Linked DNA regions of Homo sapiens: all the other regions are linked to region 1. The links are contacts of gene promoters, found by promoter capture Hi-C in blood cells and fetal thymus (Javierre and others, 2016). All regions are on one chromosome and are shown on one strand. Each heading gives the region's core, a stretch centred on a gene start or on the middle of the fragment in contact. The rest is flanking DNA. Distances are from core to core; before and after follow the strand shown.

Region 1 (4,577 bases), core at 1,249-3,748:
TAATATTTTCAACATACTTCAATTTTTTTTTCAACTATAAAAATGGAGATAATTTCCTAGAAAATTATTCTCTACTGGGTCGTAAGCTAGTCACGCTGTATAACTTTAAAACTTAACAGACTTTTACTTAAGATATACTTTTATATTTGGTCTTCACAACAAACCAGTGAGAGAATAACGTAACAACATTTTGAACACCCTCCCACTCTACCTTTTTTATCTTTCTGCTTTTTAATCTCAGCTACCTGTTTCTCCTCACGGTTGCCCACCCCAGCAAAAAACAAATAGGTCCTCAGAACCATACATCTGAAACAATAAGGCAATCTTTTTCACCAAAGATAAAACTCCAGCTTCTACTAATCAAGGCTTAAAAAAATCTTATGGTATCAGTTTCAGCTGGGGCATATGATTACCAATGATGAATGAATGCATTATTTCAAACATTTATTGGGTGTCACAGAGTTGGAAAAGCAGTAGTCTATGTTCTAGTCCCAGTCCTATGGCTCATTAGTTGAGAACTTAGAGGAAAGTAATTTATTTTTTTTCTTTCTTTATGACATTACCTGACCTCAAATTTTTTTCTGACCACAAAGTGAGACTTGAAATACTTTTGAAGATATGATACAGCAACTCATGATTTAAGGCCTGTATTGAAAAATATATAATGTGCCAAAAACTAATTAATTGTAACTAAGGTGAATTTTTAAGACTTGAGTGGACAGGGAATTTAGAAGAGGTCAAATTTCACAAGCCAACTAAAGGACATTATATTTCATCACCACTGTAACTTACCACAACAGATCTTGGCATTGCTGGCTTAAACACCGAACAGAATTCCAATAACCTTTTCTCATAGTATTTGCAGAGTGTCATTTCTTCATGAGGCTCAAGAAAGACTGGATCATTCGGAAGAACCTTTAGATCAACAATTACAACACAAGTTCAATGAATTCAATGAATTAAACAATTGTAAAACATTTTTCTCTATCTAGATTAAATTTAGTTTATATATCCAACGAAGGGTATATATCACGCCTCATTTTCTTTATAGATTCGCTAATCATTACACAAAATAGCTGTAGGAAAATATTTAATAAACTAAAACTGTACCATCATTTCACGACTTTTCGGAATGTCAGCTAGACCTTTGCTTCATTAAAGTATAAACAATCATGACAGGCTGTGTGCACATGCTCACAGTTGTGATATCATTATTTATAAATTAAAAAGTAGACAGACTTTTTAAAATATGATTGGAAAGCTTCCAACATCCGTTTCTCGGTCAGTCATTACGTCACAAGTTGTAAAAAAACAGCAAATGTTTCAATAAATTTCTGTTATTTTAAGCTACCCAGTTTGTGGTGATTTTTTTAAGGCAGCCCTTAGGAAACTAATTCAGGTGCTAAAATCAGTGATATGAAATAGATGTGAATTAAAGGTAGAAAGTAAAGTAACTCAGTATCGGTAATTTGGAGGCACTGAACACTTGCTGGAGTGGAGCTTGCAGGAAAGATTAAACCAGTCCGAGAGCTGTAACAGAAGGAACTTGGCTAGCGGGCCATAGTCCAAACCATCTTCAGTCACTTGGTTTGTACTTGGTCTCTGGTCTCCCTCCCTCATCCAACCCATTCACCACGAGGTTGCTAGAGCGCTGTTTCCAGAACGGAAATCTGATAAGGTTAGCTTCCCATTTTAAATATTTCAAAGGTTCCTCATCCTTTCAGTGGAAATGTTAAACGCCTCACTTCCACTTACAAGTTCCCTTCCTACCCTCCCCAGCCATTCCTGCACAGGTACTCAACTTCGGCCACATACGACCACAAACACGTCCACGCACCATCTCTGTAACTTCTGACCTCCCTCCCACTCTGAACGGTGGTTCTGACTGCCTGGAACTTCCTTTCCCATTTTCTCCGCATTGGCTACTGGGAAAAACCTTCCCCAACATCATCTCTTGACAAGTGAACGGCTCTTGCCACGCACTACCTTAGCACACTACTTACTCTCTTCTTCACTACGTTACAAAGACTGGTTACTTGTCTGCCATTCGACGACGGGGATGGCGTTGTTCGTCTTTGTACCCACGGAACCTGGCAAGGTGCTCGCTTATTTTGATAGAAAAACGCACTCCGCGCCGCAGAGGCAGAGAAACGACGGAGCGAGATTGTCCTGGGAGCCAGAAGAGCTCCCGCAGCTGCTCAGAATTTAGTGACCGGGCAACTGGGCAACCGTTGGGAAAACCTCACCTTCCCGTTGGCCACGGCTTTGCATCTGAATTTGCGGTTGGCGTCAGCCCGCAGTCTTGCCAGCTGCTCCTCGCTGGAGAAGGTCCAGTGCCGCTTCTGACTACTGTTGTGGTACATTATGGAATCGTGACCAGGTCCAGAGGGTCTGCAGACGAGAACCCAAACGCATCAGCGTCCTGGCGTAAAACACCCGTACCCCCACCGAAGATCTCGCGGAAGCCTAGGGCGTCCGGCTAGCCGGCGCTGGCGCGCTGTCGTCACGATTACGCGGCCAGCCCGTACGCAGTTGCATTTCCGGAGCGGACTAGGAACAGACCGTATCCCGGGTTCGTTAGGGCGCCCACTGAGACGTAAGTGGGCGGAGCCTAGAGAACGCTCCTCTCGGTGAGTCTGGGACATAGCTCCGCCCCTTCCAGGCAAGATTTAAAGGAGAAGCGCCCGGCAAGAGTGTTCAAGGGGCATAAACTGAGGGTACGGAGTAGGCAGATGTAAATTCACAGGGGATAATCAGAAATGAGGAAAGGATTTCGTAGGGTGCTCATTTTTAAATAGAGGCCTCACTGAAGTTGACATTTGTGAAAAGGCTTGAAAGAGTTGAAATAGTAGGTTGATCAATCATGTAGGGAGATCACGGGGCCCAGAAAGAATAGGTAAGATCTTCAGGCAGAAGCATTCCTAGCCCTTTTCAGGAAGAGTTTGGAGACCAGTATTCTTGAAGCACTACCAGAAATCTCGGAGAATGGAACATGGCTGAAAAACTTGAAGCAGTGGATGCGTATTGGCCCTTACAGTTCTGCCACTTTTGTTGCCTTGTCTGTTCTTTCTCTGTGCTTTTTTTCCTTACCCTTCTGTTGATAACTAGCCAATCCTCTCCCTCTGTTTTCATCTCTGAAGCCAGGATGTATGGTAGTATTCGTTTTATTGAGATTCCCATTTTCATTGCCTCTAGGGAGCCTTACAGTAAGCTATCATGAAAATTAAGGTATTTACTATTTTTTAAATTAATAGGACTTTCAAAATTGCAGGTGAGGTTCAAAATTTACATGGATTCTGGTTTGTCCCATTTAGGCATACCTTATTCTCTCATGTATTTATTATATATCCAATCCGAAAAATGGATTTCCCTATGGCAAATAGCTTTTCTAAAAAATAAATAAATAAATAAAAAGAAAGAGAAAGATGATGAGACCTAGAGAATTTAGGTCTTGAAAAGCCCACACAGGTAAAAAGAAGAAGTGGCAGGATGACTTTAACTCTGCTTTCTATTAAAATGTTTTTAGGGGCTTAAGAAAGGGAAAGCCTTTTCTTTTTCATTTTTGTTGGGTACAGCTGAGGTTAGAGTTTGCCACAGTTATCTGAATTCCTCAAACTTATGCCATTTGTGGTATATAATTTTGGAGAGCCACACACTCAACATATGTGGCTAACCTGGTCTCATAAATTGGCTAAGAAAAGAGAGAAAAAGAGAAGATCAAAGGGCATGGCAAATTGATTACAATGAATTGTGAACAACCTAAAATGTTGCATGTTGGGGAAAGAATAATTTAAAAGAGAAAAACATAATGGTACAAAAGATAGGAAAATAAGTGATCTAGATAATTAAATGTCTATATAAAGTCTTAGCCTCATGACTGTTATATATATCATATAAATTCTTTTCATTTTGTTTTTCTGAAAGATATTTGACAACTCCTTAGTTTTATGTAAAGGATAATAAAAATAGGCATTTAAAAGAGTTGGCAGACTGTGATTTCCACAGAGATATGAGTAAAATTTCTGAATGTCATTTAGGAAAAATATATGAAAAACCTGGCATTGCTGGTGTAATTTTTTTTAAACCTTGAACAAATTTTAGTCCATGAAAATTGACATTGATCTTATTTTTCAGATGTAGTAGGAATTGGGCTCTGTCTAAATTAACTGTCTGAGGAATACAATTGTTGCTGATGCCCTAACATTAAGGCTCATGTATGGTTTTTCTTACTAAGGTAAGCAGACTGGATGCTGTGACAGTCTCCTACTCAGCCTGTTGTGCGACAGTGTTTCTTTGCTATTGCTACCACAGGAGGCACACTGGAATGCAGAACTTGTGCCTTTACCTATTTCCATTTCTAGTTTCAACTAAAAAGTAGCAAGTGTTTCTCTTCACTTCTATTATTTTTACTTATTTATTTATGGAGAATTTCAAATATAAAGAATACAGAGAAACATATTTCAAAAATTATCAATACATGGCCAGTTCCCTTCTACCCTCCACCCACACCTCCATTAGGTTTTTTTCTTCTTCTTCTTCTTCTTTTTTGAGACAAAGTCTTGCTCTGTCACCCAGAC
Region 2 (4,577 bases), core at 875-3,374, 3.7 Mb before region 1:
AAGGTGAAAGCTTGGTTATTTATTTATTTATTTATTTGTTTATTTTTGAGACGGAGTCTCGCTGTCACCCAAGCTGGAGTGCAGTGGCGCGATCTCGGCTCACTGAAGACTCCGCCCCCTGGGTTCACGCCGTTCAGCTTCCCGAGTAGCTGGGACTACAGGCCCCCGCCACCTCGCCCGGCTAATTTTTTGTATTTTTCAGTAGAGACGGGCTTTCACCGTTTTAGCCGGAATGGTCTCGATCTGCTGACCTCCTGATCCACCCGTCTCGGCCTCCCATGATTTATTTTTTTTAACACGTGTTCACAGCATAGAATTTCTCTCTAAGCACTTGCATTAGCTGAGTCACATAAGCTGTAGTGTCGGTGTTTTTCTTTATGCCTCTCCAGTGAAATTTTCCTTGTGATTTCATCTGTGACCCATTGCTTATTTAGTAGTGTTGTTGAATTTTCACATTTTTGAATATCTTAAATTTCATTGTTATTGATTTCTAATTTAATTCTATTATGGCTAAAAAAATATGATTTTAAAATTTTAATTCCAGCAAATGTTCTGGGGTTTGTTTCGTGGTCCAGCATATGGTCTATTCTGGAGAATGCGCATTTGAAAAGAATGCGTTGCTTAGGGGAGTGTTTTATAGATGTCTGTTAGGTCTGGTTAGCTTGTAGTTATTAAAGTTTTCTATTTCCTTGTTGAACTTCTGCTAGATATTCTATGCTTTGAAAGTAGTATCTTGAAGTCTCCATCTGTTTTATTGTTGAACTGTCTGTTTCTCCCTCTAATTTTGTCAGTTTTGCTTCATTTATTTTGGGACACTGTTTTTAGGTGCTTATAAATTTATAATTGTTATGTGTTTCTTATCAACTGACTCTTTGACATTATAAAATGTCCCTCCTGTTCTCTAGTAACAAATTTTGTTTTAAAATCTATTTTGTCTGATATTGGCATAGCCACACCAGTTCTCTTTTAGTTACTGTTTGCATGGTACATATATTTTTTACATCAATTCACTTCAATCTATTTGTATATTTAAATATAAAGTGTGTTTCTGTAGGTATTCCATATAGGTAGGCCATTTATCTACTCTTCTAATCTCTACCTTTTGATTGGGGTGTTTAACCTATTTAATTACTGATAAAGTAGGATTTATGCTGGTCATTTTGTTATTTGCATTCTATGTGTCTTAGTTTTGTTTCTCTACCCTTTTATTTCTTCCTTCCTTTGTTTTAAATAGATGTTTTCTAGTGTACCATTTTCTTTTCCTTGCTGAGTCTTTATGTCATTTTAGTTATTTCCTTAATGTTTGCCTAGACAGTTACAAATTAACACCTTTACTTAAAACAGTCTAGTTTAGATCGCTATCAAATTAATTTGGATAGTATAAAAAAACTTTGCTCCAAAATAGATTCACTCTCTCCAATCCTTTTTGCTATTACTGTTATACGAATTGCATCTTTATGAATTATAAGCTTATCAACATAGCTTTATGATTATTGCTTTATTCAGTTATCTTTTAACTCATATAGGAGGAGAGAGTTAAAAACAAAAATACATTCATATTATCTTTATATTTACTTATGTAGTTACCTTTACTTAATCTTTTTATTTTTTTAATGTGGATTTGAATTTCCATCTGGTATCCTGTCATTGTTACCTGAATGACTCCCTTTATTATTTCTTTCTTTCTTTCTTTTTTGTTTTGAGACAGAGTCTCTCTCTTGTTGCTCAGGCTGGAGTGCAGTGGCATGATTTTGGCTCATTGCAACTTCCACTGCTGCCTCAGCCTCCCAAGTAGCTGGGATTACAGGTGTCTGCCACCACGCCCAACTAATTTTTTGTATTTTTAGTAGAGTTGGGGTTTCACAATGTTGGCCAGGATGGTCTCAAACTCCTGACCTCAAGTGATCCACCTGCCTCAGCCTCACAAAGTTTTGGGATTACAGGCGTGAGCCACTGCACCCAGCATATTATTTCTTACATGACATGAATGTTGGTGACAGTTCTCTCAGATCTGGTTTGTCTAGGGACATCTTAATTTCCCTGTCAGTTTTAAGGGATATGGGATTGTTGGCTGACCTTTTTTTTCTTTCAGCCCTTTGACTATGTCATCTTACTTACTTCTCATCTCCGTGGTTCCTGATGAGAATTCAGTTGTTAAACTTATTTTAGATCCCTAGTAGGTGACAATTAATTTTCCTCTAGTTGCTCTAAATATTCTCTTATCTTTGGTTTTTTGATAGTTTGACTATTATCATGGCCATTTTTGAGTTTATCCTACTAGAGTTTGCTGAACTTCCTGGACATTTTGATTAATGTTTCTCATCAAATTTGTTTTATAATCTAACATATGACCATAAAATATTTGGCCATTATTTCTTCAAATATTCCTTTTGCTCCTTTCTCTCTCTCTTTTTTTCTTTTGAACTCCCATTCTTAAAATGTGGTTATGGTAGATGATGTTTCACAGTTCTCTGAGGCTCTACTAATTTTTCTTCATGTCTTTTTCTGTTCCTCTGACTGAATAATCTCAATTGACGTATCTTCAGTTCATTGATTCTTCCTTCTGCCAACTCAAATCTAATGTTAAGTCCCTTGAATGATTTTTTTATTTTAGTTGTTGTATTATTCAACTCTAGAATTTATCTTTGGTTCTTTTTAATAATTACTATCTCTTTATTGATATTCTCTGTTTGGTGATACATTGTTTACAGTTCTTTTTTTTTCAATTCCTTAGATATGGCTTCCTTTAGATTTTATGCATTTTTATAATAGCTGATTTAAAAGCTTTGTCTAATAAGTCTAACATCTATGCTTTGTTATGGATAGTTTCTATTGATGGCTTTTTCTCTATTTATAGGCATACTTTCCTCTTTCTTCCTTCCTTTCCTTCCTTCCTTTCCTTCCTTCCTTCCTTCCTTCCTTTCCTTCCTTCCTTCCTTCTTTCTTTTTTTGACAGGGTCTCACTTTGCCACCCAGGCCAGAGTGTAGTGGCATGATCATGGCTCTCTGCAGCCTTCAACTCCTGAGTTCAAACAATCCTGCTGCTTCAGCCTGTCACGTAGCTGAGACTACAGAACTGTACTACCACACCCAAACTTTCCTGTTTCTTTGTGTGTCCTGTAATTTTTGTTGGAAAATAAATATTTTAAATAATATACTTTGATATCTTTGGAAACTAAATCACCATACACGATTATTGTTGCTGTCATTGGTCGTTTGCTGGATCATTGTTGCTGTTTCTTATCGTTGTTGTTCTTATTTTTTTGTTGAATGTCCTTCTTGGACTTACTCTCTATTCTCTATCATAAGCCACCGAAGTCATTGATAAGTTAGCTTAATGATCAGCTAATGATTACACAGTTATTTCCTTAATTGCCTTTATCCAATAAGTTTCCAGTCTGCTGAGGGGCTATCTGTGCCTTGGCAGTTTACAACTCTGCCTTAGTCTTCATTTCCTTTTTGTTCAGGATCTCAGGTTCAGCCAGGGGTGAACCTGTGTTTTTCCTCGATATGTATCAATCCCTGTACATAAACATGGCCTTCTAGATTCCCAGAAATATGTTGGAGGTCTTCCAAGACCCTTATGGACATTTAATTACCCAGATACTCTTTTTAAGTTTTTTTTGGTCTGCCTCTTCTTTTCTTCAACTGGTATCACTACTTAAGGCAGTTGCACTGCTAGCAATTGTGGCTAATTATTTTTGACAAAGATTCTATGAATAGGGATTTTCCTACTGAAGGAGTTTTGAGTCAAGTCAAATAATGAAAAGCCCTGCGAATGGAGATTTTCCAGAGAGCTGGCAGACAGAGAAACTAGAAGCAATTTTCAAAGGATAGTGCTTTTTAAGGAGATCCAAATCTAGTCTGCTTCCTCAAGTTGCTGCTAGGCTGATGGTTTTCACAGTTGCCATGGTTATAATGCTGCTGATTTTCATGACTCTTGTAGAATTGGGAAGTAAGGAATGGAAATAGGGGAAGCTAAAACACCACAGAAGCTTGCTGTCCTTACCAAAATTTAGGCATTTACCTTGAGTAAACACTCCTTAAATTCTTACAAGCCTTTAGTTCATTTCCAGGGTTCTGACAAAGTTGATTTTGACAATTTTGTCAATGTTTTAATTACTTTTATGGAGAAGTGAATTTTTGGATCTCCTTACTCTATCATTCTAAAAGCCTGCCTCCTAAACAGTCCCTTAATAGTGTCTGTTCTTCCCTACTTGGAGCAGGTATGTTATTTTTTAATAACATCTCTGAGCTCTAATTTCCTCATCTGTAAAATGAAAATTGTCATATATGCCTCATGGAGTTGTTATAAATATTAAATGAGAAATTACTGAGCACTGTGCCCGGACTATAGTAGGCTGTTTGGAAAGGTTGTTTCTTCACTTCCTCTTTTATACTTCTGATGTATTTTATACCATTTAAATATTTTCAAAATCTAACTTAGAAATCAGCCATGATTATTCATATTTGTTAAAGTCTACTACTCTACTTAGCTTTCAGTTTCTTCCATAATAGACCCCCTGTCTTCCCTACAGATTTTCAGTCATGCTTAGCTTTAGCCAAGCTGTTTCATT
Region 3 (4,577 bases), core at 1,551-4,050, 3.5 Mb before region 1:
TATATATATATATATATATCTCCAAGAAGAGAAACATCCAAGAAGAAATTAACTTAAAGTGAATTGAAACTTTTTTTTACATTTCAGAAATCAAAGCCTGCAATTGTGACTTTAAGATCATATGTATGCCAATCACCCATGACCCTCAGTTTACCTATATAGCAAACCTGCACATGTACCCTGGAAACTAAAATAAAAGTTTAAAAAATGTGTTGCAGTTACTTGATTTATCAGTTTTAAGTAATTCTTTCTTATGAAATGTGAGCAAATCAGGGCACTAAAGCTTTCCCCCTTCTTCCCTCACTCCATCTCCTGTTTCTTTGTTATTGATTCAAATTATTCCTCTATTCCAAAATTCCTGTTGTTATACTTTAATTTGTCCTTACAAACAGTGGCCCAAATCAAAAGCTATTGTACTTTATATGAGGGTTTCTCTCATGCTGTAAAATGTTATTTTCTTCCAGAAATGGAGAAAAACATTTGCTTATATGTGAAAACAAGTAAAATTCATGAAACAAAACAAAACTAAAATAATAATTTCATAATTATAGGACACTTAAATGTGGTAACAGCATTGTCAGAAGCTGGGTTCTTAGAGGTCTCAGGAAACATCAGTGCCCAACCTAGAAAGTATTTATTTACTCTGTGAATGGCAGCTGGTCCTTTCTTCTCTGAGGGTAGGTTGTCAACCGATATATCTTTGAATCAATACCATTTTGAAGGAGTCACCAAGTTAATTTATCCTTTTAGTGTCTCCTGTATATGGATTGACAGCTAGGCAGACAGCAAGAGTATAAACCTGTGTTTCTTAAGATAAAATAGTTGGTGGGGAATTCTAGACTACTGTAATTATTATCACTGTAACTTAAACATAATGGCAGGTTGCCTTTTGATTCAGACTCTGATGGTGTAAAGGGATTTGAAAAATGAAACAAGCTTTCAGTTCCCTGTTTACAGAGGATTGAGTTGGCATCACATAGGCAAAGCAGGGACAAGATTTCAATAAAACTGACAGAAATAAAACGTCTTAATTTCCATTTATCCATAATTATGATTGTCATGCTGATTAATCACAGGCCATGTCTTAAGCTTCTCAGGATTTAGGGACAGGTGAAATTGTAATAATACCTTTGATCAATTATTGGGTGTTAATTATTCTAAATGAAATTGGTCCTCTTGACCCTTTCCTTGTCACACAGGAAAAGGTTCCTGCTTTGTCCTCTTGAGCCTCGTTTTGTTGGAGCATCTGCTTCCATTGGCTCTGACAGGAGCTCTTTCCTTAGGGAATCCCGTTCTTGCCTTTTTCCTTCTAATTATTCAGAATGTTTCCCTCTTTCCTTTAGCTACCTGCATCAAGCAAAGCTGTATTCAGTGATTTCTCCTGAGATGACGCTCTGCTGGCAACTCACCATCGACAACACAAATGTGACAAGAAGTCATCTAACAACTTGAAACTATAAACAAGAAAAAGGTATACCCATGAAGCTTAAGCAAAGAGGATATCCGTGTAGTAGGCTTCCTGGTGTTTCAAAGATCTTCCAGAAAAGGGACTTTATTATCTTGCACTCAGTGGGTGCTTAAAATATACTCTTTGATGATACCAATGATGATTGTTTTAGTTGTGCCTCTTTCAAAGGAAATACAAGGTAATCATTATGGCTTTTCAGCTGCTGAGTTGGGCAGCCTTTCAAATTTGTTTGCTGCTTATTCAATTTTCCTTAATATTAGCTGCACATGGAATAACCTGGGGAAGTTTAAAATATTGATGCCTGGATCTCATCCTCAGAGATTCTAACTTACTTGGGCTAGCATGTAGCCAGGACCTTGGGATTTTAAAAACCTCTTAGGTGATGTGTACATGCCAGCAAGGTTGAGAATCATTGTCTAAATTGCATTAGCTGGTATATGCTGGGTGCTTTGGTGCCAGCCCTGTGCTAGGTGCATTACATATGGCATCTTGTTTGCTCAGCAAAACAATGCCATGAAGTTGCAATTATTACCTCCATTTTGCAGATAAGGGGAACCAAACTCAGACAGGCTCAGTGAATTTTTCAAAGTCACATGGCTGGCAAACAGTGAAGGAAGGATTTCACCCAGGTATGTCCACAGTTATATGCTGCTGACCATCTTCACTGGCAGGTTTTTGGCCAACGTAGAACTCATGGCTGGTTACATGTTGTGCATGGTGTAAGGGAGATTCCTTTGTTGCCAGGAGGTTGAGCTGGTCAGTGTTTTCCAACCTTTCCTAGTGATGAGAATTTTCTGGGGTTTCCAAGCTTCTTCCCTGGAAACTGATTCAGCATTTCTGGATTGGAGGTCCAATAATTTTGTTGTTGTTGTTGTTATTGTTGTTGTTAGCAAATGCTTTGGCTGATTCTTACTTTAGAGAAGCTGGGGAAGCTCTGGATGAGATGACTGGTGAAGAATTCCATGATGAATTCTCCAAGTCCTTCTAAGGAAAAACTGAAAACTCTGTAGTTGTGAATCCCAATGAACCAACAGTGACAGGGATAACCTTTACACCATGTCCCTATAAGTTGCAGGCTCTGCACCTTACCTTGGCTCCAGTGTTTACAGTCTCCTCTTACTGCATCCATCCTAGCAGTGTGTTGGGACCAATGCCTTTTACATACTTCTGGGCCTGCTTCATCATTTAAGTTCTTTCCTCTATTCCAAGAGCTGATTTTGCTCATCTGTGCCCATCTTACCTCTATGCTCTGTGATGTCAAGTTGATAGCTTGAAATTGGCCATAAGAGGTTTTTATTTTATTTTTTAATTAAAATCTTACAATAGAGTGGTTTTATAGGTACTGACAAGTTACAAAGATAGAAGAGAGATTTCTCTTATACTCTTTGGTGGAAGTTTTTACAACATAAATATCAGCAAATGCTAAAATTAGGACTCTGCCCCATTTCCTACACACCATCCTGAAGCCCATTTTTAAACATTTAAGGCACACCACTATTTAAGCATTCAGCACCACCTACAGAGAGTGTTAGCATTGCTGGCTGGAAAAAGAAAAGTTTCATTAGATATTTTCAGATGTTTTGTTTCGGTAGGATTCTCACTTAAAAAAATATACAAATCTAGGAGAATGTATACTCAAAGGACAGGAGATGGAATGCAATGCTAATTCTACTTGATAAATATTAAACAGTGGTGAACATACTGGGAAAAAAGCAAATGATATCTGTATTTTGTATTTTATATATCTAAAGAGAAGAACTGGTAAATTTGATCTGAAAAATTCTATAAGCATCTATTGGCTCAAGCTAAGCCTCTAGGTATAATGCACTTATTTTTTATGAAGTGTTTATATAATTAGAAGCTTCACTGCAACTCGTGATAAAATTTTGCTTCATATTTACTTCATATAGTTTAATATTTTAAAATTTCTATCTTGGAGACGTATGGACTTATGACTTTTTCAAATATTTTAAGGATTTTATAAAGTGTTTTAATTTAGGAAACAAAAATCATTGCCAATTACAAAAGCCATGTTATGTGTCAAATCAACGTGAGCTTTGCTAAATCTAACTTCTCCGTCAAGAGCAAGGCCAGGTCTCACTCACTCCAGAAAGCATTTCCTGCCCACTCCAGCCAAGAATGTTCCTTCCTCTTTCTGATCTATTACTGCTTTTCCCCACAAATTGTTTATTTGGTACTTAACGTCAGAAGACCTGTATTTGCAAGGTTGTCTTTCAGCTGTCTTAAGATAGCTCCTATTTCATTACAGATCTTTGGCTTTGATATTTATCTTATTATGTGCATTTGTTTCATTTTTCTTGCACAGATTTCCTAGAATCTTAAATTTCCTTTTGTCTTTGGCAGAGATTTAAAGGTCATCTTTCTGATACCTATTTGGTGATATCCCCTTAGAAAATCTCCTCCTTGTTGCTATTTAGTCATTGAGCCAAGGTGGGCTTCAAGGGCATGTGACCCTGTGCAGTTACCCAGGACTCCTTGTTCAGAAGAACCCCACACTTGGTTTAACGCTCTGCAGTTGTGTCTGAAATTCTTCATAATTTTTGAACAATGGGCCCTGAATTTTCATTTCGCAATGGGCCTGCAAATTATGTAAGCAGTCCTGCATCCAGCTGTTGATCACTTGAGGACATTAATCACATTTTTTTCTTTATAAAAACCCCATTGCTTATCATGTAATTAGTGCTCATTAAATATTTTCTGATTGGCTTGGCTTGGTGGCTCACACCTGTAATCCCAACATTTGGGGAGACTGAGGCAGGTGGATTGTTTGAGCCCAGGAGCTCAAGACTGGCATGGGCAACATAGTGAGACCCTATCTCTAAAATACCTCTAAAAGAAAAAAAAAATTTTTAAATTAGCTGGGAGTGGTGATGCACGCCTGTGGCCCCAGCTCCTTAGGAAACTGTGGTGGGAAGATTGGGCTTGAGCCCAGGTGGTGGAGGCTGAAATGAGATGTAATCATACCACTACATTCCAACCTAGGTCACAGTGTGAGACCTAGTCTCAAAAAAAAAAAAAAATTCTGATTGTATGGAAAAGACTTCCTGCCAGTCTTTGCTGACCCCACCCCCAAAAAAATAGTCTAAGA
Region 4 (4,577 bases), core at 761-3,260, 3.1 Mb after region 1:
GCTTTTCAAGGCCATTTAAAAGTATGTCAAAGAAATATATTTGGGAGTAAAATACTTCTGATTTCTTTCAGGGCCTGGGATCTGTCATTTTGCAATGTATCTTATTGCCGCAAAGAGTCAGTTTGGTCAGTCTGAAGATCTCTGTTTTAATGTTAATGCTGGTCAGAAGTGTCTGAATTCCCAAGGGAGGAGGGTATAATGAGGCATGTCCAACCCTCCCTTCCCATAATGACCTGAACTAGTTTTTTAGGTTTACTTTGGAATGCCCTTCACCAAGGGAAGGGGTGGTCCATTCCATCGGTTGAGGGGGCTTAGATTTTTATTTTTGGCTTATAGTTAATTTTAAAATGCAGTCCATGATTTAATCAAGGATTATGCATTGCATTTAGTTGTCAAGCTCCTTTAGTTTCTTTTAATCCAGAAGTGTTTTCCAGCTTCTCTTTCCCCATCTCAATTTTTTGGTCTGACATGATGATGGTATTTTTAAAAAATATAGGCTGTAGTTGTTTCGTAGACTACACTTCAATTTAGATTTGATTCATTGTTTCCTCATGATTAGATTGAGATTAAATGGTTTTTGGCAAGAACCCTACATTGGTGATGTTGGATACTTCTCTGTGCATCATATCAGAAGGCACATAATGTCAGTTTTCCTCATGATTGGACACCGAGCACTGTTCTATGTACTTTATGCATTTAATTTTTAAAACAAATTTATACTGTAGCTATTGCTTTTATTTATTATAGATTTCAGTACTTTATACAAAAGGACACTGAGAAATTAAGTATCTTGTCTGAGGTCCCAGAACAGTGTCCTGAACTCAGACAGTTGTTCCAGATTCTGCAAGATTAGCTAATAATTACATTGTGAAGAAAGAGACAACTGACTCTGTGATTCTTAGCTCATCACCTACCTCCAGGGTATATAAGTGGAGGCCAGAATATTGATCTTTAAGCCTTTAGTAAGAATCCTCTTAGAGTTGTCATTGTGCTGTGCAATCTACCTCTGCCACCCCTAGGTAAAAATGGCAGACAATCAGAGGATCACTTGGAGAATTTGATGTGGAGTTTGAGGGACAGAGTGACTGTTACTTGACTCATCTTGAGAAAGTCCAACAGTGAGTTTGACCCTGCCCTGGAGGCAGAATAATTGTAGGAGATAGGTGTGGTGTTCTGAGGGCCAGCTGTGGATAGGACAAATGTGTCTAAATTTCTTAAGGCACCTCATTCACAAGACCCATCAGAAGGGATGAATGAACCCCTGTGGAAAGCATCTGTGATGGACTGCCAGAAGTTAGAGACTGGGGGGTTAATTGTAAATGGGTTGCCCAGGAAGACCTAGCCCATGTTGGGGTCCCCACAGATGACAGCGCCAAAGAACTCATTAAGAAATAACATTTTTTTACATCCCTTATGCCTTTCCCTGCTTTCCAATCCTGGAAGAGCCATAAAAGAACATAGCAAAAGGGGATAAGTAGTACAGTTGGGAGGAATTGAAAAAAAGGATAAGCATGCCCTCTTTTTCCACTGTAGGCTTTATAACCTAGGTCAGGCAACGATCTAACTCTCAAAGCTTAATGAGAGGTTAAGCTTTGCTTTGTGCTATCTGAGAAATAAGGCTACTTGTTAATTGAAAATGAATGTGACAAATGGGATCTACTCAAGGTTTCATCTTGGAACAGAAAGGAACGAATAACAATGCAAGGTGAGAAAGTGGTCAGAAGGAACAGAATTTAGTTAATACGATAAATTGGCTACTGAAATATTGAACCGCTTTCTAGTATTTCTACACTGGGTTAGTTTTATACTGAACTCTGGGAAAGAACTGTTTTCTTGGTAACTGCCAGACTGTCTCTGACCTTTGACTCTAATTTAGGAAGAGTTATTAAAGTTCTTCTCTTGAGAAATTGTCCAGAGTTTTGTGCTGTGTTGCTTTTATGTGAACTGCAAATAGAACACTTCCAATTGTTGAGTGTAGTAGATTATCACTGGGAATGTGAATTTTTTTCAGTAATGCCACTGAAATTCTGCCCCTATAGTGGGAGCCAACTGCAGTTGTCCTGAGCATAGCTAAACATTTGTTTGGATATTGATTCTCCTCTAGCTGCTAAGCTCTGGAGTATGGATGACGACTGTCTGCTCTCCATCTCCCATCCCTAGTGCTATATTTTTAAACTCACTTGTACAGGCAGCACTCAGTGGCCAAGTTCTTTTTCTCTTTCAACTCAGTCCCATTCTGCTCCTCTTCTTCACCCTTTCTTCTTCTTTCCTTTCAACACTGTTCCTAAAATAAGCCAACTTCTAATCTTTGAACTTTACCTTCATTTCTAGCACTAAATTTTCTCTCTAAACACCTAGAGGTGTTTCTGATCAGAGCTGGGATGATCATCCACAGATAGGCTTTGCTCTTGCCCTCTAGTTCCATTAGTGTAAAGCTTCAATCAACCCCACTCCCACAGCTCCTAGTCCTCCCTCTAAGATCTTCCAATCCCCTCAATAAGCCAAAAATGCCTACTTCTGGGCCCCTCAAGGTACCAAAGGGAGAAAGGCTGTCACTTTGCTTACGTCAGCATTTTGTAGAAGGGTATAAAAGCAGAGCTGATCCACTTCTTCAAATGGGGAAGAGCATCCTCCTTTTACCATCATCACAAATAGATAAACGTTTCTCTTAAAGTGCCCCATGACAGCTGAGAATAGACTCAGACTGAGTAATGAGATATTTTTGTATATGCAACTTTAAAAAAATTCTTAAAGGTAGAAAAAAGAAACATTAATTGATTCATGTGTTTATGGAATTCCATATGAGGTGGCTAAAAAAGCTAAATAACTTAAATAAATAAAATAAAATTAAGTCAATGTATTTTGTTCCATTGAGTGATGATGACAAAGAACAAAATAGGCTGCCGTTTTAAAATAGGAAGAAAATTATATATTAGGTTGAACCATATGAAATTGCTCTTATTCAACAATTCTGGTAATATTGAACATTTTAACATAAGAAAATATCAATTGCATGTGGTTCAGCCTAATACTGATGTTTTAAAGACATTTCTGATAGTATTTCTCTGCTGTAAATACTTTTCTACTTAAATGATAATATATGTTAGTCAATTTTTCTTTTGTATTATTTTTAATTACTTCATAATGCCAGTAGAGTGCGTTGGCTGTGTGGTGATATCAATTAAAATTTAAGAATAAAAAAAAAGGCATATACACATCTGGTTATGATTTGCCTTTCTTGCTCTCCAGTTGCATAATTCAACTTGATGCGCATAATTCTCTTTCCTTTTATTCAATTCCATGTGGTGGCAGAACTACTACCAAAAGATGAATACTTTCAGTACCTTTCATATGAAAGCTGCCGCTTTCACATTCTGTCCTATTGATACTGCATTTTGGCAGTGGATAAAGGGACACAGTTAAAGTCTCTGCTCATAATTGGTTTTATCTGGGAAAGATTTTCTTTGAACTAGTGGCCACCCATGCTTTTATAATTATCAGAAATTAACTAGCTCAGCATTTCTTGTAAGAAATATTCACAATTCACTTCCTTGCTTTTGGAAGAAAAGAAAAGAAAGACAGAAAAGGAAAGAACTAAGGAGTATTAGAGAACTCCGTTTTGTTTGGGAATATTCCATGTGAGATTGCTCTAATGCAATGCTAAAACTGTGTGTTTCTTCATGGTACTCTTTGAAACACAATCTCAACCTTTTTTCAGAACCCTACAAAAAAAAAAAAAAGAAAACTTGAAAAGAATTTTTGTTTTCTGAAAAGTGAGACAATTTCAGTGTAAGTTTTCTGATATGACCTGACATTTACAAGTCACAAAGTATTAAATCTTTGTAGAATATGTATATGCATTTCAATATGATTTGAAAGGTAGAGCACTCCTAACTTCAAGTCTAAAACTGTTGGCAGAGATGTTTGTGTCAAGTGGACCAGGCATCCACACATAAGATGTAAACTTTGCAAGACCTTGCACAATCTCCAGACACACCATAAGTCAACCCTCTTTTCTCACTGGGCTTGGTTTTCCCACCCATGAGGGAATAGACAGTGGGAGCTTTGTTTGTAGTGTCTTTGTTTGCTTGCAGCCACTGGTAAAACAAACATTACTTCAGACTGAAGAAGTCCTTGGTTGAGCTTGGGGGCTCTGGGAGAACTTTTCCTATATCCCAACACAGATGACTTCATCAGGTTATCTGGTGTAGACTCGCCCCACTTAGGATAATTGGATTGCAGCATCCTGTGCATATCCATGTAGGACTGGATGTTTAGTGAGAGACTCCCCACCCATGGGAAGGGATCTGAAAGAGGAATATTGAAGAGAAACTTGCCCTCTTTCACTTTAGCCTGACTCTATCTGTCAATGAAGCTTCAAAGGCACTTCAGGGTCTTGTCAGGCAGCATTATAGTCTTAAAAATTTCTCATAATTTCATCTTTGGACAGTACTGATGAGCTCTGCACTGGACATAAGCCACTGAGGGCTGAAAATGTACACAGTGAATCCTTGAATTGAGAAAACAGTCTCATTTTGTGACCCAATCTACTAGAAACTTACGTGATTATAAAAACG
Region 5 (4,577 bases), core at 1,363-3,862, 3.1 Mb after region 1:
ATCAAACTTTTCCATAGTGTCTCAAAGCATTTCATCCCAAATAGTCTGTGCCACTCACTTCGGAAATAACTATGAAAATTCCCTTTGTTGTTTACCATATTTCCTCCTTGAAATCTTCTTCACATCACTGTTGAATGCCTGAAACATCTTTACACCTCATTGGAAATATGACCTATTTTTAATTATTCAGATGGTATGTTAAATTTCCCTAAGAAAATTTTCTAGGTTCATTAAAAGAAAGCTAATGTCTTATAAAACTACTGAATCACAAACTCTCCTCTCGGATCTGTACCTTGATGTTTTTTAGCCTTGTGTCTCATTTTGAAGTGTATTCCACCATCTACCTTCTATGACATATTCTGTAATTTATTTATCAATGGTCTTATTTCTCTACAAAACATTTACTCACATGTTTATTTGCATTTAGAAATAAACTTAGATATTTTCTGATTTAATAATGGCAAGAATTGATGTTTTCATACATGAGCAAGGTAGGAGGAAAAAACTACCCAGCTCTTACACCACATCAAAAAATTCATTTTAATAAAATATTTTATTAAATTTTAATATCAAAATTTGAAATGTTTTGATGAATTGTGAATTGTAATAAGAAATGTGAATTATTGCAATAGTTGCAAATGTAGAAGAAAACCTCATGACCATAATTTTTTTAGAATATAAATACATTTATATAATATAAACTTATAGACATGTGTGTTCCTATTGCAGAGAAGTATTACAGGTAATCAATAAAAGGTTTTTCAAGTATAAAAATACTTTACATCATGAAAAATTTGGGGGGAAGATGAAAATATTAATGAGAAAAAGGAATGATATAAAATCTCATGCTATTGAAAAAAGAGCTCTCATACACACACTTTCCACTTTTTTTAAAAATACAAATTTCAGGTAGCAAATCCTGGTGGTACTTAGAATTCTGTGGATGCATTTAAAGAGCACTCTAACAGTCTTATTTTTAAATGTTAATACAACATTCTGAAAATTATACCATTTGTAACTATGTTAAGTCATGAGGAAGAATTTAGGAAGTTCACTTAAAAATGTGCAATGAGGTACATAGTACATATATTTCAAAATTCTATTGGGAGTATGAGAACAAAAAGTTTGAAAACAAATGTTCTAACCAGTTTCCATATCAATGTGGATATAAAAATATCCTGCTAAGGCCTCAAGATGGACATAATGACACAGAGAGAAAATGGGTCCAAATAGAGTATAGTATCTATTAAAATTAAAAATACACCTTTCCTCTTATCTGGCAATCCCACTTTTAGGATCTATCCCACAGAAGTAAAGGCAGTGCCATTTAAAGATATAGTTGTGATGATATTTGCCACACAAGGTAAAACACCAAGAAAATCCTGAGTATCAATTAATAGGGCAATGGCTTAAAAATACTGGAACGTTAATACTACAGACATTATACAACCATTTAAAATAATGAGTTAATAAGGCTTTGAGGGATGGTCATGAGGGTGTCCATGATACACTAAAGAATGAAAAATGCAAGTTGCAGAGTAAAATGCATAATATAATCCACTTTTAAAAATACAAAGATTACTAACTCCCCAAATATGTATATATAAATAAATACTTATGAGCACAAAAAAAGGTAAAGCATTCCTACATGCCAAAGTGTTAATGCTGGTTATCTCAAGAAATTGGGGCAGGGAAAAGCTTTTCCTTACACATTTCCACATTTTCTTACCATTTGAATAAGAAGATAACATAGTTGAGTGTTTTTCAATACTGAAATTCGTGGATTTGGAAATACACAGAAATTCAAGTATTTGTTAAATATTTAAAAAGTAAACATCTACAAATGTGACACAGATTTCTTTTTTCTTTCCTTTTTTGGAGACGGAGTCTCGCTCGGTCGCCCAGGCTGGAGTGCAGTGGCGCGATCTCGGCTCCTGCAAGCTCCGCCTCCCAGGTTCATGCCATTCTCCTGCCTCAGCCTCCAGAGTAGCTGGGACTACAGGCGCCTGCCAACACGCCCGGCTAATTTTTTTGTATTTTTAGTAGAGACGGGGTTTCACTGTGTTAGCTAGGATGGTCTCAAGCTCCTGACCTCGTGATCCACCCGCCTCGGCCTCCCAAAGTGCTGGGATTACAGGCGTGAGCCACCGCGCCCAGCCCATGTGACACAGATTTCTATGCAAAAAATAAGAGCAAAAAATGGAGAAAGGAATAAACAAGGTAAAAAAGGACACAGAATTTATTTCAGTGTGCGTAAACAAATAATTTCTTCTGAATTGCATTATGTAATATTAAAACTTACCGTACAACAGTACTGAAGGGCTATTGCATTTAATGTATCTCCTTCTTGTATATCTTTTGTTAATACTATAATGTCGTCAAGTCTATCTCTTGATGTACTTCTTCGGACTTTCTCTTTTCCTCTGGATCGAAGTTCATACACTTCAGCATCCTCCTCCAAAATATCACTGTCTGAACAATTTCCAAATGCATGTACTTGACCACTTGACTGAACTCCTGGAAGAGGAAAACTACGATTCTGATGCCTCCCTGCCATAATGTTAAAATCTGGAGGAAAAAAAAAGCAGAGAAAATTTTGGAATGTAGCTGATCCAACTGACTGATTTGCATGCATCGTACATTCAGGACACAATCTTTTGTTTTTGTTTTAATGGTTTTAGTTATTTAAACATTTAGGTTTAAGTTCGTTTTTTTGTTTTGTTTTGTTTTGTTTTGAGATGGAGTCTCACTCTGTCACCCAGGCTGGAGTGCAGTAGTGCGATCTCAGCTCACTGCAACCTTTGCCTCCCAGGTTTAAGTGATTCTCCTGTTTCAGTCTCCCGAGTAGCTGGGATTACAGGCGCCCACCACTACGCCCAGCTAATTTTTGTATTTTTAGTAGAGACAGGGTTTCACCATGTTGGCCAGGCTGGTCTCGAACTCTTGACCTCAGGTGATCTGCCCACTTCAGCCTCCCAAAGTGCTACGATTACAGGTGTGAGCCACTGCGCCTGGCCTAGGTTCAGGTTTTACAACTGTTAAAGTAGAACAAACGTATTTGGCAGTGGAGACAAAGGTAAGGGAAGAAGAGGTAATCTCCTCTATTAGATCATATATCACTAAACACGTGGAGTAATTACATATTAACAAAGGCAAATTGCTATAATTCTTTTGGTAAAAATATAACTTATAAAATTAAATACTATAAAATATTACATTAAATATAAAATCGTAAATTCCCCTTATTCTGAGTATGTGAAGAAAATCAGAGAAATAATTGTGTTATGTCTTAAAAACTTGTGACTATATAACTTATAGCTCTGATGGAATCAAAGCATGTTTTATATACACATAATACTTTCATGAATTCAAAACTTTCCAGCTTGTTCTGCATTTCAACTTCATTCAGGATTGGAGTATCTTTCGTATTACTTCCTCCTGGACTTTGGTATTTATATTTAGTGCAGATATGCCTGCAATATAGGTTATGATTTTGCTTCCCTGGAAGCAGGAATTTTTCTTCCCTGGAAGCTTTTTAGCCAACTTAGAGTCCTCATCAAATTCAACTTATGGTCCATAAAGACTGTGAACAGATTTTAGGTTACTGTGTTCATTTATACTTTAGAAAAACCATTGTAAGACTGACTGGGAGCTGACCTAAGTTAAAAACAGGCATCAATGAATACTTTTTGTTTACTTGCATACTAACTCTCAACTCACCATCATCAAGTTGATCTATCTACTCTCTTTAATTAGGAACACAAGAACCTAAAAAACTAATTCCACATTCACAGTTTTGGCTTCGTGTTAATTATTCACATAAGAAGGGGCAGACTGCTTTCAGTTCTTGTTGGGAAAGATGGAGGGAAGTAGTAAGAAGCACTTTGGAGATAAAATTCTTTGCACTCAAGGTGGTTCAGACATGAAGAGAGGGAGTAAATTAAGCATCACACCAAGATTTCTGATTTGCATAATACATTGTGGTGCCATTCTCTGAGATATGGAAGAGGAGCTGGGGGAGGAGGTGCATGGCTATGATTATGAATTCCTCTAAGATAGTAAAAAGGAATGGCAAATAGACAAATGGGCTATATAGTCAAACTCAGAGAAAAGGTCTAGGTTAGAAATAAAATTTCATGACTAATTTGCACATAGATGAAAATGAATTTGTGAGTACATATATTACCTAGAGAGTATAGAAAAAGAAGAGGGTCCAAGACTGAGCCTTGAAGAAGTCCAAAATTCAGTATCTTGGTGAAAGGAAATCAGCCTGAAAATATGGATAAGGAGTGTCCAGAAGAGGGAGAAACCATGGAAGTGTTATGTCATGGAAGCCAAAGCAAAATAACATCTCAAAGACTCACTATTTTTTGAATACTATGGATGAGTACCAAGCGAAACAAAAACAAACAAACAAAAAACAGAAAAGACCAACTCCAAAACTCTGAGTATATAAAATGGATGACAATAAATTACAAAGGTTGAGAATCCCTAACCCAAAAATCCAATCTTAAATACTCTGAAATTTGAAATACTTTGAGTGCTGACATGAAGCCACAAATGGAAAATTCCACAAC
Region 6 (4,577 bases), core at 723-3,222, 3.1 Mb after region 1:
TTAATCTGTGTTTTAACAGGAGGATCTTTCCAAGAGCAATGTGGGATGAAGTGGTTGTTGTGGTTGCTGAGGGACTTAAACTGGCTTTTTTGGTGAAAAGGGATGTAGCAAGTCAGGGAGGCAGAGGGAGTAAGTTGCAGTGGAAAGACTGGTATTCAAGACATGACTATAGTGAGTCAGGAGAATAGGGTGCAACCATCTTAAAAGGGCTCTGAGTAAATAGGGAGTTTGGATTTAATTCAGTTAGCCAAGAGGGAAGATGAGGAGAGTAGCAGAATCAAAACTGTGCTTTAGGATGAGTAATGTGGATCCATAAATTAAACAGGAAGAACAAGGGATACCACAAAGTTTGCAGTTAATCAGAAGTGAGGTGAAAAAGGACTGAGCTGGATTATGGTAGAGAAATTGCAAAGAAAGTGACATTTAGAAAGAATATGATTGATCAGTGCTCTCTGGCTCCTAGCACAGTGCCTGGAATGCTCAATATTGGTTGAATGAATGACTCAATGAAATTGGGCCATATGAAGTAGAGAAACATTTGGAGCATGAGGAAATATAGAAAGCACTAAAACTCCTTTATTCTAGAGTTTGGTGTATTGAAAAAGGAATGAGACAGTGGTTAACTCAACCACAGTCTCACTTGTAGGCTGTTTCTTTCATGATACATTTACCAGGATCCAGGGACTCTCTCTGAGCTCTGCAGGAGAAGAAAATGAATTTATCAGCTCCTCTGTGTACAGGGTAATGGATTCATGAAAACTAACTTAAAGAGATGGGTTTGTAGGCTGGAATGCCACATAATTATTAAATGTGTCAAAAGCTAGGAAGTTTTTCTGGCAAGGGTGGTACCTTCGCTAATGATAGCAATTCATACACCCAAAGATTGCTTGATAAAAATGGAAATTTAGAGTCAATAGAGTTTGTTATTTTTCAAGAGCTGTTCCATGAAGCAGTGCTAGCTGGTGTCCTCTTTTTTTAGGGTGAGTTTTCCAAACTTTTCCAGGGCCCACCTCCAAAGATTCTGGTATGGTAGGTTTGAGGGCTTGAAGAAAGCCTAGGACTCTATGTTTAGCAGGTCCTCCAGTTAATTTTCATGATGAGGAAAGTCTGGTAAACTTTACCTGGAATTGTTTTTAATCTTTAAGTAGTGGCAAATCCTGGACTGGAGTGCAGCCCAGTGGTTTTGAGTAGGCCTAGTGGGCTCTTGCAGTTGTTTCTTAGAGTGAAAGGTGTGACCCCTTCTGCTCAGCAGTTTTGATACTTGGGAGATACGCTTTCTCTAGGCTCAGCATATGTTTTAGTGACTCAGCAATTGAAACAAGTCCATTTGGATATTTTCCTGCTTTTTTAATGTAGAGAGATGTAATAAGCTGGGCTATTAAAATAAATATAGTTCCTGTATGAACTTTATTTCAAGGTAACTAAATAATAGATAAGAGAAATTGATCCCTGGTGGAATTCCAATTAATAAAACAGAAAGAAAGATAAAATTTGTATACCACCATTTTGCAATTCATAATGGAAAAATTGATCTAGATTGTGATCATCAGTGACTGCTAAAATCATTAGGTGAAAACTGATGGACACTTTATACTTAATGAAATAGACCAACACCTGAACCCATGACCAGCCTGATCAATACCAAGAGGGAGACTTTATGTTCATCTTGATGTAATAGAGAAGGAAAGAGAGAGCATCCCTTTTCAGTATTCTTGAAAAAAAAAAAAAAATCAAACCCAAATCTAAACCTCTAGTTTACCTGTTTATTGGAAATACACCCAGAGAATACAGGAATATGTTAAATCACATCTCAGGTATAAATCAGTCAAATCCAGAATATGGGAAATTATATAGCTTTGCTACTTTCAAAGTATGGTTTACAAACCAGTTGATGTCTCCTGAGACCTTGATAAAAATTCAGATTCTCAGTTTCTGTCTGCAGCCAACTGATTCAAAATCTGCCTTTTAACAAGATTCCTAGGTAATTCTCTTGTACCTAAAGTTTAAGAAGCATTGTATAGGGCACTGACCTAGTTTCTTAGACAAATAGAAAGAAAAAAAAATGGGAAAACCATTACAGTTTAAAAGAAAGTTAAATGTCATGTATTTTTTATATCTTGATTTGAACAAATTAACTGTAAAAACATTTATGTGATAACTAAGAAATGTGAATGTTAGTTCTATATAAGATGATGGTATAGAGTTATTGTTAAAATTGTAGATGCAATGTTATTGTGATTTTTTTAAAAGCCCTTAACTCTGAGAGAGGATACATACTGAAGAGTTTAAAATAATCTGAAGCATGGGAGTAGAAAAGTATAGTTAAAGTACAATAGTCATATACGGATAATTTTGAAGCTGAGTAGTGGGTATATGGAGATTTAATATACTGACTTTTGTGCATGTAAGTATAGTAAATGTAAGTATTAGTAAACCAAAAAAGGCATAGACTTGTAGTTTAAAACGACAACATTAAAGATGACAAATCAACTTTTAGTGTTCAAGCAGTTATGAAGGAAAACTCAAATATGGAGGCCTGCAGGGATAAATTTACGAAATGAATAATGTAAAACTATGAAACCCAAAGGGAGGGATTGAAACCAACTTTGCAAAAGTCATAACTGAGAAAATTATGACAGTGAAAGATATCAGACCTAATTGATCCCATCTTGCTTCTAACCTCTGAACTGTCCTTGTTCATTCTTGGGCGTGAAACCACCTTTGCAAAATTATGACTGAGACAGTGAAAGAGATCTAACCTAACTGTGACTCCATCTTGCTTCTAACCTTTAAGCTGTCCTTGTTCATTCCTGGGCATAGGCTGAACTAACTTTGGGAGGAAATTAGTTTATGGTTTGAAACAAAGACGATAACAGACTTTCCCAAAACAAACCTCCTCCTTGCCTGGGGACTAGACTGCCATTGTCGGACTAAGAAATTATTCACAAGATTAGAAATTATAGTTTCGGAGTCATGCAGCTGGAGGCTACAAGATTCTGACCCTCCCTAAACCACTCCAAAGATCAGTGCTTGAGATATTTTGCAGACCCTGCACTTGATGGATCAGGGGGCACTACCCAGATCGATTAACTGACTCTTCTGATCTTGTGGCCCCCACCCAGGAACTGACTCAGCAGAAGAGAACAGCTTTGACTTCCTATGATTTCATCCCCGAGCCAACCTATCTGCGCTTCCAGTTCACTGGCCCCCTACCCACCAAATTAACTTTAAAATCTCTGATCTCTGGCTGGGCGCAGTGGCTCACAACTATAATCCCAGAACTTTGGGAGGCCAAGGCGGGTGGATCACCTGAAGTTGGGAGTTCAAGACCAGCCTGACCAACATGGAGAAACCCCGTCTCTACTAAAAATACAAAATTAGACAGGCATGGTGGCGCACGCCTGTAATCTCAACTACTCGGGAGGCTGAGGCAGGAGAATTGCTTGAACCCGGGAGGCGGAGGTTGCAGTCAGCGGAGACCATGCCATTGCACTCCAGCCTGGGCAACAAGACCGAAACTCCTCCGTCTCAAAAAAAAAAAAAAAAAAAAATCTCTGATCTCCGAGTTTTCGGGGAAACTGATTTAAGGAATAATAAAACTCCGGTCTCCCGCACAGCCAGCTCTGTGTGAATTACTCTTTCTGTATTGCAATTCCCCTGTCTTGATAAATCAGCTCTGTCCAGACAGCAGGCAGGGTGAACGCCTTGGGCAGTTACAAAATCATATCTGAAAATGTTCTCAGTATCATAGCCATTATGTCAAATCAAATGCCGTGCATTCTACTTGAGTAATTCACAGAAAACAGGAAACGATGTTTCATTACATAAAGATGTTGAATATATGATTTGCTTCTGGGGCCTTAAATGTAGAAGGACATTAAAATTGGCCATCATTGGCAGGGTGCCATTGGCCGGGCACGGTGGCTCATGCCTATAATCCTAGCACTTTGGAAGGCCGAGGCAGGCAGATCACTTGAGGTCAGGAGTTTGAGACCAACCTGGCCAACATGGTGAAACCCCGTCTCTACTAAAAAAATAAGCCGGGCATGGTGGTGCGCGCCTATAATCCCAGCTACTTAGGAGGCTGAGACAGGAGAATTGCTTAAGTGAGGGAGGGAGGTTGCAGTGAAAAAAATAAATAAATAAAATATTTAAAAAATTAAATTGGCTGTCTAAAAGTGCAATGCCTTGTTACTGCTATTCCTTGCAAATGAATTAAAACTTGGACTGCCACATCCTGAGTGTTACATAGATTTACAGCAATTATAGTTATCTTACCTTTAAGGCAAATATTTTTAAGTTGCTAAGGCTAATTTTATAATTTTAAACCTCAAAGATGAGATCTATGAAGTCCTTGATTCTACATGTGTATTTTAACTCAACTACTCCTTAGTAGCTAAGACTTCCACCAAAACAGTTCTACCAATACTCTTAACATTTGCTGTGTATTAGAATCACCTGGGAAGCTTCTAAAACTGACTCTTGCCCAATCCTCACCCCAAGAGATCTGGATTGATTGGTTCAGTTCAGTGATTCACAGAACTTAGCATACATAGAATTATCTGGAAGGCTTCTTA

Evidence for each region. The method cuts DNA at HindIII sites, captures the fragments that hold promoters and counts their contacts. A CHiCAGO score of 5 or more calls a contact.
Region 2: a contact is called between a fragment that was not itself captured here and the fragment with the promoter of CCNH in region 1, in 1 of 17 cell types (M0 macrophages). The highest score is 6.4, in M0 macrophages.
Region 3: a fragment that was not itself captured here is called in contact with the fragment with the promoter of CCNH in region 1 in 1 of 17 cell types (M1 macrophages); the score reaches 6.4 in M1 macrophages.
Region 4: a fragment that was not itself captured here is called in contact with the fragment with the promoter of CCNH in region 1 in 2 of 17 cell types (naive B cells and total B cells); the score reaches 7.3 in naive B cells.
Region 5: a contact is called between a fragment that was not itself captured here and the fragment with the promoter of CCNH in region 1, in 7 of 17 cell types (neutrophils, total B cells, non-activated CD4 T cells and 4 more). The highest score is 12.5, in neutrophils.
Region 6: a contact is called between a fragment that was not itself captured here and the fragment with the promoter of CCNH in region 1, in 1 of 17 cell types (naive B cells). The highest score is 5.7, in naive B cells.

Annotation. Positions count from the first base shown.
Region 1 is chr5:87,410,432-87,415,008 of GRCh38, forward strand. It overlaps CCNH (cyclin H), which reads right to left and starts at 2,499. Exons shown (of 9, transcript NM_001239.4): 1 at 2,247-2,499; 2 at 793-915. The coding sequence starts at 2,363. LOC105379066 (a long non-coding RNA gene) reads left to right here and starts at 2,551. Exons shown (of 3, transcript XR_948543.1): 1 at 2,551-2,630. RefSeq lists enhancers at 2,126-2,255, 2,286-2,455. The HindIII fragment of the contact is 6,680 bases long and covers 1,260-4,577 here.
Region 2 is chr5:83,747,029-83,751,605 of GRCh38, forward strand. No RefSeq gene overlaps it. Among named protein-coding and RNA genes, the nearest start is that of HAPLN1, 28 kb to the left of the region's middle. The HindIII fragment of the contact is 1,315 bases long and covers 1,468-2,782 here.
Region 3 is chr5:83,910,803-83,915,379 of GRCh38, forward strand. No RefSeq gene overlaps it. Among named protein-coding and RNA genes, the nearest start is that of HAPLN1, 190 kb to the left of the region's middle. The HindIII fragment of the contact is 1,053 bases long and covers 2,275-3,327 here.
Region 4 is chr5:90,543,146-90,547,722 of GRCh38, forward strand. No RefSeq gene overlaps it. Among named protein-coding and RNA genes, the nearest start is that of ADGRV1, 13 kb to the right of the region's middle. RefSeq lists an enhancer at 1-264. The HindIII fragment of the contact is 845 bases long and covers 1,589-2,433 here.
Region 5 is chr5:90,522,733-90,527,309 of GRCh38, forward strand. It overlaps LYSMD3 (LysM domain containing 3), which reads right to left. Exons shown (of 3, transcript NM_198273.2): 2 at 2,303-2,568. The coding sequence starts at 2,557. Among named protein-coding and RNA genes, the nearest start is that of LYSMD3, 4.6 kb to the right of the region's middle. RefSeq lists an enhancer at 1,534-2,035. The HindIII fragment of the contact is 1,833 bases long and covers 1,697-3,529 here.
Region 6 is chr5:90,479,614-90,484,190 of GRCh38, forward strand. All of the region lies in intron 1 of POLR3G (RNA polymerase III subunit G), which reads left to right. Among named protein-coding and RNA genes, the nearest start is that of POLR3G, 7.0 kb to the left of the region's middle. The HindIII fragment of the contact is 4,983 bases long and covers 1-4,464 here.